Regions from separate parts of the Homo sapiens genome. Here regions 1, 3 and 4 are each linked to region 2. Evidence: promoter capture Hi-C in 16 types of primary human blood cells and fetal thymus (Javierre and others, 2016). All regions are on one chromosome and are shown on one strand. Each heading gives the region's core, a stretch centred on a gene start or on the middle of the fragment in contact. The rest is flanking DNA. Distances are from core to core; before and after follow the strand shown. Region 1 overlaps TCAIM (T cell activation inhibitor, mitochondrial). Region 2 holds the start of ZNF197-AS1 (ZNF197 antisense RNA 1). Region 3 overlaps TGM4 (transglutaminase 4). Region 4 overlaps TOPAZ1 (testis and ovary specific TOPAZ 1).

What was found. Contacts are between HindIII fragments. The CHiCAGO score rates a contact against its expected background, and 5 or more counts as called.
Region 1: a contact is called between a fragment that was not itself captured here and the fragment with the promoter of ZNF197-AS1 in region 2, in 1 of 17 cell types (total CD4 T cells). The highest score is 5.3, in total CD4 T cells.
Region 3: a fragment that was not itself captured here is called in contact with the fragment with the promoter of ZNF197-AS1 in region 2 in 1 of 17 cell types (endothelial precursors); the score reaches 5.4 in endothelial precursors.
Region 4: a contact is called between a fragment that was not itself captured here and the fragment with the promoter of ZNF197-AS1 in region 2, in 1 of 17 cell types (erythroblasts). The highest score is 5.0, in erythroblasts.

The regions. Positions count from the first base shown.
Region 1 is chr3:44,341,323-44,344,182 of GRCh38, forward strand. The region is part of intron 1 of TCAIM (T cell activation inhibitor, mitochondrial); the gene reads left to right. Among named protein-coding and RNA genes, the nearest start is that of TCAIM, 4.0 kb to the left of the region's middle. The HindIII fragment of the contact is 1,784 bases long and covers 463-2,246 here.
Region 2 is chr3:44,623,005-44,626,071 of GRCh38, forward strand. ZNF197-AS1 (ZNF197 antisense RNA 1) reads right to left here and starts at 1,793. Exons shown (of 2, transcript NR_046658.1): 1 at 1,718-1,793. All of the region lies in intron 2 of ZNF660-ZNF197 (ZNF660-ZNF197 readthrough), which reads left to right. It overlaps ZNF197 (zinc finger protein 197), which reads left to right and starts at 2,032. Exons shown (of 6, transcript NM_006991.5): 1 at 2,032-2,139. The region is part of intron 2 of ZKSCAN7-AS1 (ZKSCAN7 ZNF cluster antisense RNA 1); the gene reads right to left. RefSeq lists a silencer at 2,036-2,385 and an enhancer at 2,365-2,867. The HindIII fragment of the contact is 2,284 bases long and covers 563-2,846 here.
Region 3 is chr3:44,881,887-44,885,096 of GRCh38, forward strand. The region is part of intron 1 of TGM4 (transglutaminase 4); the gene reads left to right. Among named protein-coding and RNA genes, the nearest start is that of TGM4, 8.9 kb to the left of the region's middle. RefSeq lists an enhancer at 2,008-2,685. The HindIII fragment of the contact is 1,211 bases long and covers 1,067-2,277 here.
Region 4 is chr3:44,320,543-44,323,585 of GRCh38, forward strand. It overlaps TOPAZ1 (testis and ovary specific TOPAZ 1), which reads left to right. Exons shown (of 20, transcript NM_001145030.2): 17 at 485-649; 18 at 2,550-2,753. Among named protein-coding and RNA genes, the nearest start is that of TCAIM, 17 kb to the right of the region's middle. The HindIII fragment of the contact is 832 bases long and covers 1,114-1,945 here.

The DNA of each region.
Region 1 (2,860 bases), core at 105-2,604, 280 kb before region 2:
TAGGTTTTTATTTTGAAGAGAGAAATGCTACTTCCATCAAAACTTGTGTTTTTATTGGTTAGCAAGTGCCACCTTTGTCTTCAAATGGTAAAAGTAAACAACTAGCTATTTTTTAATTCTGATGAATTAAAAGTATTTTTCTAGAGAAAAATTTGTGAAATTATTCATCTGTACTTTTTGAATTGTATGTAGCCTTGGCAAAATTGCCTACTACCTTGTGTTTAAGACCTTCAGACATTGACTCCTTATTGTGATAATTCTGAGTTTTTCAACAAAGTTTTTCAAAATTTGTTTTTGAATAAAATGTTGTATTGAACTGCATGTTTGAGCAATATGTTATCTGACATTAGATGGAAAAAAATTATGCCATTTTTTAATACACTCTGACATAATAATAGTTGCAACTGTAATGAATTTTTTATTTACTAAATGTGGCTAAATCCCTTATGCATATTCTACTTAAGCTTCACAAAAGTTCTATGAAAAAGATAGCCCCTACTTTCATAAGTGATGTACCCCTGAAAACACATACACAAAGTCAGATGTGGGATTCCACATCCACAGTGCTTAAACATCATTATTAGGTTCTAAATTAGATTTCACCTTTTAGAAAAGTCTTATTGAATATTTCTAGCATTTTGTCTGTGTCTTTCCACCATTTTATCTTAAATGTGCTGTCCAGATAACTTCAGTGAGCATCAGATACAGACCAAATATCAATATAGATAACGTTTTCTCATTTGTATTTCATTTCGTATTCTTTATTACTAGTATTAGAATTGTAATTTTTCTTTTTTATAAAATAAAGACAAAATTCAATAAAATATTCACTAATTTCATTTACTAAATTGTACTCCTGTCTAGCAGATTAGCATTGTGTTAGCTCAAAGTATTCTCTCAGTTAATGAAAACTTAAGATTCAGAATTAAAAGGCAGTTTGGAGTGGGGACAGAATGTTTATATATATCCACATGTTTCTGCTGTAATGCCATTCTTGCATTCCTGGAAATCCTGACATGCTGCCAAACAATAAGCAAAAGTAACAGTTTGTGGAGAAAAAGCACACACCACTCAAAACTGAACAAAATTTTATAAGAGCCCTAACAAAAACCCTAACCCTAATAAACATGGTAGTAAAATTAAATCTAGTTTAGACCAGTTTCATCAAGATTAACATTCTAATCTAGGAGTAGCTTTATTTATCAATCAAATTTTTTTTTAAAAGACTTGGAAATCTCTAGCTTTTTCGTTTATCCTAGCACATTGCCAGATGGTTTGATGAAGTGGAAAATGTAGCCAGACTTGAACCCACTAAACATCTGCTTCTTAAACCAAAAGAAAGAAATACCAGGAGATTTTTTTTCCTTAAGGTCTTTACATATCACTAAAGCCTTTTTTTTTTTTTTAAATTGTAGAAAGCCTACCTCTGATCACTTCAAATCAGTAATATGTTGGGGGTAAAGTGCATATATAAGTCTTTCCCCTATTGACCAATTGCATATAAGCTGATTCACATTAAATAAACATTTTAAGGCTGGACACAGTGGCTCAGGCTTGTAATCTCAGCACTTTGGGAGGCCGAGGAAGGAGGATCAGCTGAGGTCAGGAGTTCGAGACCAGCCTGGCCAACATGGAGAAACTCCATCTCTACTAAAAATACAAAAATTCGCTGGGTGCGGTGGCAGGCGACTGTAATCCCAGCTACTCGGGAAGCTGAGGCACGAGAATCGCTTGAACCTGGGAGGCAGAGGTCGCAGTGAGCCGAGATCATGCCACTGCACTATAGCGCAGGTGACAGAGCGAGACTCTGTCTCAAAAAAAAAAAAGAAGAAATGTTTTGGTGTTACAACAGACTTTTCTTAACCATCTATGTTATTTAAGAGATGAGGAAACAGACTCCAGAAGGTAACGTAACTTGCCCTTGCTCACACAGTCACTGAAGATGTCAAGATTTGAATACAAATCTCAAGCCCCCTAGCCTCCATTTCCTAACCATTATGCAAACTACCTACTTTGACAGTCACATTCACTGGAAGTGTTTAGATCAGCACAATCCAATAAAAATAGAATGTAAGCCTTGGATATAATTTAAAATTTTCTAAAAACTAGATGTTTTACTTTTTAAAAAGTAAAAGTGAAATTAATTTTAATAAATTATAATTTCAACACATAACCAATATGAAAAATTATTACTGAGATACTTTCCATTGTTTGTACTGAATCTTTTAAATCCAGTGGGTATGTTAAGCTTAACACATCTCTATTTAGACTAACCACATTTCAAGTGCACAGTAGCTACATGTGGCTAGTGGCTGCCTACTGTTTTAGACAGCAGAGGCCTAGATTGTAATTCTATTACTCTACTGAAATGTAAACCTTTTTAGGAAATAGCTTGCTCACAAAATAAGCAGATAGAAAACACCTAATTCTCAACCTGTCATTTTTTTAGTGCTCTCTTTCTAAATCTGGAAACCATGATTTAATGTTTAGATTTGTATTTGGTAACATTTTATTTTTGTTGAGAAAATCTATTGTCACATTTCTAAGCACTAATGTCCTTTATTAGTCATTTCTCAGTAGTAGTTTAGTTATACTCTGTGATTACAAAGCGATTAGTGGATGAATGTATTTTTCTGGATAACTAAAGACCTTGAACTTTACACAAATTTTATTTTGCTTTGATTATTTTTGATGGAAATGCTTTTTTTTTTTTTTTTTTGAGAGAGTCTCACTCCATCACCCCGGTTGGAGTGCAGTGGTGCAATCTCAGCTCACTGCAAACTCCACCTCCCAGGCTCAAGGCCTCAGCCTCCCAAGTAGCTGGAATTACAGGCGTGTGTCACCACACTCAGCTAATTTT
Region 2 (3,067 bases), core at 543-3,042:
GCGGGTGGATTGCCTGAGCTCAGGAGTTTGAGACCAGCCTGGGCAACACGGTGAAACCCCATCTCTACTAAAATACAAAAAATTAGCCAGGCATGGTGGCGTGCGCTTGTAATCCCAGCTACTCAGGAATCTGAGACAGGAGAATCATTTGAACCCGGGAGGCGGAGGTTGCAGTGAGCGAGATCGCGCCACTGCACTCCAGCCTGGGCGACAGAGTGAGACTCCATCTCAAAAAAAAAAAAAAAAAAAAGAAAGAAAGAAAGAAAAGAAAGTTTTATTCACAACATCAGTTTACAAACTCGGAGAGATAGTCTCTGGCTTGAACTGAAAGTGGTGCTCTCTCTGAAGAACAAAGAGAAGGTTAGAGGTTTTACAAAAAGGAGGAATGTTACATATTGCTCTTTGAGAAAGTTCATTGGCAGTAGTAAGGGTGTGGGGAGCTGACAAGCTCCAGTTGGTGAGCAACTGCGGTGGGCAAAATTAGTCCTAGAGTTGCAGCAACTTATCTCAGAAGCTATAGATAAAACTGGTTTTGGCTTATAATAAGCAGTTTCAGCAGTCAAGCTTACAGAGAATAACATTCCTGGAGCAATGTTGTGTACCCTGAGTGCTTCCCCCAGCTAATTTCTCGACTTTCTTTTATTAGGTATGACAAAAATGACCCAATTCTTATGATCAGCTTTCACATTTCTTAGCATTTACCACCACCTGACACATTTTTATATTTGTTTTCTGTTTATCCCACTAGAAATGTAAGCCCCATGAGAACAGAGACTTTACCTCTTTATCTATGTCCCTAGTGCCCAGAACAGTATTTGGCATATGGCAAGTACTCAGTAGTTGAATGAATGAATGAATCAAGGCTGAAGTTTAAGTATGTTGTTTAATGAATGCCAGGAGAGAACATAAAGAAATAAACAGAATAAGCCTGGCACGGTGGCTCACGCCTGTGATTCCAACACTTTAGAAGGCCAAGGTGGGGGTGGATCACCTGAGGTCAGGAGTTCAAGACCAGCCTGGCCAACATTGTGAAACCCCGTCTCTACTAAAAAAAAAAAAAAAAAAAAAAAATAGCCAGGCATGGTGGCACGTGCCTGTAATCCCAGCTGCTCAGGAGGCTGAGGCAGAAGAATCGCTTGAACCCGGGAGGTGGAGATTGCAGTGAGCCAAGATTGCGCCACTGCACTCCAGCCTGGGCAACAAGAGCAAAACTCCATCTCAAAAAAAAAAAAAAGACATAAACAGAATAACATGAACCTTGCTCATTGAATAAACATTCATCTACAACCTATATGGCTTCAGCTTTGTACTAGGTGCTAAATACATGGGATCCATGCAGACATGGCCTTTGCCCTTTTGGAGACTTGTTTCAGCCATAGTCCCATATAGGGGTGTCAGTTCCAGAAGTCCAAACTTAAGAGACTGAAGACCAAAGAGAGGATCAGAGTGCCAGTTTCCTTTATATACACCTGACTTTACCCAGGGCGATGGACAGCTAGAATAACCTCTTCTTTCAGGGGAGAGATGTCCCTACCATTTGCACATTACCTTGCACCATCAACTTGATTATTATTTAATATCATAGCTCCAATATGTCATCATGTGGGCAAGAGATACACCACAGTAAGCGAATTCACAAGAGGGTGATTTATAAGTCATGTTATTATTTATAGTGAGAATTGCATAAGTTCAAGAAGAGACCAGAAAAGTCACCTACCAGGTCATTCAGACGTGAAGGTCACTCCCTATCAACCTCAATTGAAATGCAAATCAAAATAGAAATGTCCAACTCTCTTAGGAGGCAACAGGCATCCTGAGACCCTGGGTCCTGTCTTTCATCTCTGCACCCTTCCGGTCTGAAACAGCGGCCAGTTCTTGTTCGATGTAAGGAACACTAGTACCCAAGGGCTCAGGAGTTCCGCCTCTCTTCCCCAGTTCTGGGAAAAGAAACGAACCATAGAGATGTGGCTTCCTAGAGATCCGGGATGAGGGGCGGGGTGCAACCGGAAGTCGCAGTATTCTCGGCTCGGCCATTATTCTGTGCCTCGGCTGCCGGAAGGGCTCGTTCCTGTGTCATCTCCTAGCGGCCTGGCGCCGAGGCGGCGGTACGCAAGGCTGGAGCCGCAGCGGGAGCCCCCGGTGAGCGGGGTGGGCTCGGGGGCGGGTGGGCGTGCAGGGAAGGCGGCCCGGGACGCGGGCCTGAGCTTGCTGGGACTGCACAGCCCTCGGTAGCCTCTCCCGGGCCCTGACCCCCGGCATGGTCCGTCGCCAGCTTCGTGTTGGGGTTCGACGTCGTGGCCTCGGCTGGGCAGGCAGCCGGCCCGAGGGAAGTACTGAGGACAGCAGCTCCGAGTCTGTGTGTGTTTGTGGACCGGTGCTCCTGTCTAACGGACTCTGCTGGCGCTTTGAGAAGAGCTGCCTCAGTAGCCTGCTCCCCCAGCTCAGGCCTTTCTGCTCTTCCTCAGTCTTGTCTGAGGCTAATCCACAGAAACATTCTGAGGTTTCCCTATTACCGGTGGCGCCCAGACTCTTGAGGACGGATTTTTTTGTTTGTTTGTTTTAAGGGGTGGAACGATTTTAGCTTTTTTAGTCTTTTAGTTTTGTAATATAATGGTATTTAAAAATCAAACTTGAAAAACTCAAACTTGAAACCACCCATACCAACATTACTTCAGGCAATACATTTTAACACAAAGTACTAAGACCGTAAACTCAGAATAAATGCTGGCCTTTGCGCGCGCGCGCGCACACACACACACACACACACACACACACACACACACTCATTGCCAACCTGTCAGCGACGATTGTTACTGGTTTTCTCTTTTTGCAGCTTACCAGATTAAAGCTTTGTCGTGGACTGGTGTTTGGAAACTGTTGTTTTAGAACAGTTTGGGTTGTTTGGGTTTCATAAGTTTCTTCGTAGATGGAATTGTTTTGGACTTCTGGAATTAGAATCCCTGAATTCAGAATTTGCTCCCATGTCTCAGTTAGCTAAGTGGCCTTGAGTGGATTCGCTCCTCTGATCCTTTTGTTTTTTTTAACTTCTGCTTTGAAAACCTTTTGT
Region 3 (3,210 bases), core at 422-2,921, 260 kb after region 2:
CTCCAACCCACACATTGGTGGCAAGAAACAAGGACATTGTATTCCACTGACACTTTTTCTTTGCAGGTTTCCCTGGTCATCTTGCATTTATGACACTGCAAGCATTAAACTGGTATATCAATTTTGACCATCTATCCAAGTGCAATAGCTACAAAATAAAAATACAAACGCTTTTTTTTTTTTTTTTTTTTTAGAGTTGAGGTCTCACTTTGTTGCCCAGGCTGGCGTGTTGTGGCTATTCACAGCTGCAATCATAGCTCACTGCAGCCTCAAACTCCTGGGCTCAAGTGATTCTCCCACCTCAGTCTCCCGAGTAACCGGGATTACAGGTATGTGACTCCAAAGGCATTTTTTTAAAGACAGCCCCAGTGTGGCTTCCTGTAGTTCCAGGATTCCTCCAGCCTCCCAGATCTGCCTTAAGCAGTGCTCAGGTCACAGAGCAGTGCCCAGGAGAGGGTGAGGGAGGAGGCTCCAGTACTGGCCATCTGTTATGTGCTGTATGTTGGTTTCTTAGGGCATTCAAATGACCACAAATGAGGCTGCTTAAAACAACAGCAATTTATTATTCTCTCGTTCTGGAAGATAGACATCCAAAATCAAAATGTCCGCAGGGTCCTGCTCTTGCAGAAGCCTCCAGTGGAGAATCTTCCCTTGTCTTTCTTGGTTTCTGGTGGCTCCAGGTGTTCTGTGGCTTGCAGCTGTGTAACTCCAGTCTCTGCCTCCATCTTCACATGACCCTCCCCTTGCCTTTCCATGTCTCTTATAAGGACACTTATTCTTGGATTTAGGTCCTACCTGGATAATCCAGGATAATATAATCACAAGATCCTTAATCACACCTGAAAATCCCCTATTTCTATAAGGTCACATTCATAGGCTCCAGGTGGAGATATCTTCTGTGGGACCACCATTCAACCCACTATATGCCCATCTGCCTAACATTAATGATGGCCTGCATTTTGTCGAGTGCCTACTGTGTGCCAGGCATGTGCCAGGCACTCAATGTGCACACTAGCCACCAAGGGAGGGACTATGTTTACCATTCCAGGGAGATAAGGTCTTAAGAAGCTTCCACAGAGATGACTGCATTTAGGATTTGGATTTCTTAACTGCTCTTTCCTGCTTCCTGGTACCAAAACCTATACCTTTACCCCTTGGGAACCCAGGTCACCCACCTGCCCAGTCCATGGGGGAGCAGGAATAAGTCAGAACATGGGAGGGACTGTTAAAGCCCTTTTCCAGCTGTGATTGCTTTGCGATTGGCTCTGGGTCCCACAGCAGGAGCTCTGCTGTCCAGGGAAATGAAGAAGCCTTTCAGGATTGCAGCTCCTGACAGCATGCTATGGTTTGAATATGTCTCCCCCTAAAATTCAGGGGTTGCCAATGTGGTGATACTAAGAGGTGGGGCCTTTAAGAGTTGATTAGGTGATAAGGGCTTCTTCCCTGTGAATGAGATGAGGTGCCCCTCTAAAGGGACCTGAAGGAGGGAGTTGGTCCTCTCTCGCCCTCTGCCTTCTGCTATGTTACAATGCAGCAAGAGGCCCTCACCAGATGCTAGTGCCTTGATCTTGGACTTCCCAGCCTCCAGAACTGTGAGAAATAAATTTCTATTCTTTCTAAATGACCCAGTCTCAGGTATTCCATAACAGTGGCACAAATGGGCTAAGATGCTCCAGCTAGCCATCGGCCCACCCCAAGGTTTCAGCCCAAGAAGGGGAAGCACCTGGGAAGGTAGGTCTGTCTGCCAGGTGGGCCTCCCTGCTGGAGGCAGCAGGTTCCCAGGCCCTGTGCGCAGTGTGAAGGGAAGGCCACTTGCTGGGACTTGCCTTCCTGGAGAACACTTGTCCAGACCCCAATCCCAAAGCCACTCCAGCAAGAATGAGCTGTGCTGTCTCCAAACACATCACTGGCCGCATCCCCAAGGTAGGCATCTGATGTGGGCGTGACCACTCCACCTATTTTGTAGTCATGAAAGCCCAGTTTCCATGGCTGGCCTCCTTGATCTCTGCAGAGGATGGGTTTCCTCTGTGGGTGAGCCCTCAGGAGCAGAGGAAGGTCCCTGCATCTCACCTCACTTTACCTCACAGGCCACAGCGGGGCTTCCTAATCTAGGGGTTCTCCATATGTGCCTCCCTGGGCCAGCAGCACAGCGTCATCAAGGAAGCTGCTGGAGAGGCAAATTCTCAGCCACACCCCAGATGTGCTGAATCAGAAACTCAGGGTGGGTCTGGCAGTCTGTGTTTTACCATGCCCTCTGCACACTCGAATTGCCTGGAAAGCTTTGAAAACATAGAGGCTCAGCCCCACTCAGAACAATTGTATCAGAATCGCTGGGGGAGAACATAAGTAGTTTTACAACCCCCAGGTGGTTTCAGCATGCAGCCAAAACACATTTCCCTTCATGACTCATGAGCCTGGGAATGGTTTGAATTTTAGATAAAGGGGAGGGGTTTGGGTCTCAAGCTGAGGTAATACGAAATGTCATTATAACAGACACATGGTGAGAAATACATGTGCTACAGAAAAGGGTGTATTATGCATGTGGAGATTATTTCTTTTACTGAATGTACTTTTCACTTTAGCATTGAAGAAAAAAATCCCCTGTTTTTTTTGGGGGGGATGGAGTCTCACTCTGTCACCCATTCTGGAGTGCAGTGGCTTGATCTCGGCTCCTGATCTCAGGTGATGCGCCGCCCCCACAGCCTCCCAAAGTGCTGGGATTAGAGGCGTGAACCACTGCACCTGGCCTTAAAAATCCCATTTATAATGCAAGTAGTCTTGGCCTCAGATCATGGGAGCTCCTTGGTGCTTCCTCCTCAATTTGGATAAAAAGGCTTCACCCCAGCCACTTTGCACCCCACCCTTCTCTTCAGGATGTGAACTCTCACCTCAGGATGGTGTCTGACTTGAAGCTGATGGGAGTCTGGGCTGAACAGGAAGGGGAGCAATCCCAGGGCTCATCTGTTCCCTCCTCAGTTTGCCCGCTCCCCTCTTTCCCTTCAGCTTTTGTGTTGATTGACGGAGAACACCCTGGCACCAGGTTTGTTCCTGAGGCCATGTCTGCAGAGAGGGGGAGTTGGGGTGGGAAACTTGCCTAACAGCCACTCACAGACTCACCCTGTTTGAAACTCAGTTTCCTCACCTGTAAGATGGGCGTGCACTTACCTATTTTGCGGGGTTACATGACTAAGCACTTGAGTCCACTGCTCT
Region 4 (3,043 bases), core at 280-2,779, 300 kb before region 2:
AGCCAAGATTGCGCCACTGCACTGCACTCCAGCCTGGGTGACAGAGTGAGACTCCATCTCAAAAAAAGAAAAGAAAAGAAAAGCTATTCCCCAGTAATACCAAAAACTAATTAAATTATTTATTGTGAAATTGTTAAACTTGTCCACATAAATAATATTTTATGTTAAAGCAAATATTTGTGATAATCTGAACTTTTTTATATAAAAATAAACATTTAAAATTAGTAATTGACTAGTACACTTAGATGAAGAATTAATTAAAAATAAATATAACAAAGTGGCCATTTGTTTGCATCTTCTTCAGATGATGATCATCACTATATAAGTTATTTCTAATAAATTTGAGCCATGGTTATCTTCTCTGAGTACATATGTTTAAGTTTTGCCTGTTTCTTCAAAAGATATATTGAAACATTAGTTGTGATTATACTGTTAAGTGTCATTTTCATGGTATAAACTATTCATATTTTTTTCTTTTTGGAAGAGTCAGAGTGGATAATCAATACGCCTCTGTGGCCTTGTGATAGACTGGATGTGCTTAATCGACATAATTTACTCTGTACAATTGCACATGAAATCTTAGCCAAGAGCCTTTATAGACAGACATTTGAAGTTTTGCAGAATCTACCAGGTTTTCAAAATTCCCAAGGTATGTTTTTTAAAAGTCTATCTTAATTATCTCTTGCCCATCTGGTGTTTAACTGTTAATAAGAAATAGTTATCCACCTGTTTTGATTGAGTTTTATATTCCAGCATATTTTTTAATGAAGTAGTTTTCTGTAAAATATGTTCTCTGCAAATTGAATATACTTTCCTGATGGTTTAAAAAAATCTGAGATGCTTATCTTTGGGTTGTTTGTCAGCAGTTCCTAAGACAAGCATTTTTATCATTCCCTTTTCCCTACTTCTGTCAAGTCATCAGCAAACAATATGTTTAAATGCCCTGAGCAAGCTTTTTCTCTTATCACTGAATAAATACAGAACTTAGTTTACATTACCTAGGAACACAGGTAAACTTGAAAGAAATGGAGGAAGTGAAACAGATGCCAAGTTCAAACGCCAATGTGGGAAATGGTAGTCAGTACTCTTGAATGTTGGGTGTCCATGAGCAAAAGCTTTGGGTCAAGAATGAGCTATGTGATAGGTTCAGAGGATGACGAAAACGTTAACCTGAGGGCCTCCCCTCAGTACTTTCATCGTACTATCTATAAATTTTCATTTTTCCACTTAATTCCACTGTGCTCCTGTATTGTAATGAGCATTCTTATCTGTTTCTCCTTATACAAAGTGAGCTCAATCAGGATGGTACTATTTTCTTTACCTTGGTATTCCTGGCCCAATGGCTGCTATCTAGCAATCTCTTAATATACAATTAGTTGGTAATGAAACAAAGTAGTAATAGGGAGATTGGACAGATAGTTGTGCCAGATTTTGGAAGACCCTAAATGTCAGGCTAAAGGAATTTTCTTCTCTGTGTATAAAAAGGGATCACTAGAGTTTTGGGTCTAGGGAGTGATATAATGAAATTGGTGTTTCAGGAAAGTTCCTCTGGCAGTAGTGTTTAGGAAAAGACTAAAAGTAGAGAGATTAATTTCCTGATAAGTCCTGGATAACTAAAAGATTCTAAAGCAGTAAGGAACTACAGTCTAGCTCACAGACCCAACTGACTGAATATAGGGAATAAAAGAGAAGTCTCTAAGATGACTTCTCTTTCTTCTAAGAATAACTGAAGGAATAGAAAATCCATTAAAGGATTGTTTTAAATTTGGCAGTAAATATTTATTAGGGGATGATTTGTTTTTAGTCAAGGGATATATAAGGCTAAGGTCTGAACTGTAGATATAATACAAACAGAATTGAGAAATTATTCAAGACACTACAGATACACAGTTACATGTGGGAATCAAATACAGAGGTCTTAATGCATCCTCTGAAATTTTTGTCAAGCTTCTTTTTATCTTCTCTATTGCAAAGGAAGTTAATGGTTTTTCTTTTGTCAAATGCTTTTTCGTTTCTGACTTAGAGAATATGTAAGATAGGTTGGGCGCGGTGGCTCATGCCTGTAATCCCAGCACTTTGGGAGGCTGAGGCAGGCAGTTCACTTGAGCCCAGGAATTTGAGATCAGACGATATGGGCGTGTTCAGGGTGGTATGGCCATAGATGAGCCCAGGAATTCGAAACTAGTCTGGGCAACATGGTGAAACCCTGCCTCTGCAAAAAAACATAAAAATTAGCCAGGCCTGGTGGACCTGTAGTCCAAGCTACTTAGGAGGCTGAGGCGAGAGGATGACTTGAGCCCAGGAGGTGAAGGTTGCAGTGAGCCAAGATCATGCCACTGCACTCCAGCCTGGCTGACAGAGTGAGACCCTGTCTCAAAAAAGGAGAAGAAAAATAAAGAGAATATATAAAATGATTGCATTTTAGTGACTGTGAGTCCTATAATGGGTAAGAAAGGGTGAAGGGGAGGAGAAAGAAAAAGGAGTATGAGATGGAGGTTTGAGACACTTTAATATAAATGAATTTTATTATATCATTTTTTTTATTCCAGAAACTGTGGAAGTCTCACAATATAGCCTTCTTTTTAATAAGCTTCTAGGTTCCTGTATAGAAAGCAGTAGTCTTGGTATGTCATCCTCTGTGGCAGAATTCATGATTTCAAAGAGCATCCCTATTGATTTTTCCTTTCTCAGAAGATTAATTACTTCTTTAGGAAGGAGTCGTTTATGGCTCAAAGCCAGAGCCCACTACAAAAGTAAGTTACATTTAAAATGTTTTAATATATTGGTTTATAATTGTATTCTCTAACCCAGAATTTATAATATATAAGATTAGATATTTATATGTATTAAAAGAGCAGTAATACATATTCAAATGTAGTGGTCTCAACAGATCTGTGCTCTCTTTTGAAACCTATTGTTTCTCTTCTGTTTCCAGTTGCTTTCCTTATTTCCAATGTTTGCAATTTCCAATCTTTATTTCTTGCACAGTAGCCTGTCCGCTAGAGGGCGAGCAAAGGGAACAAATGACAGGATAGAACCAGTT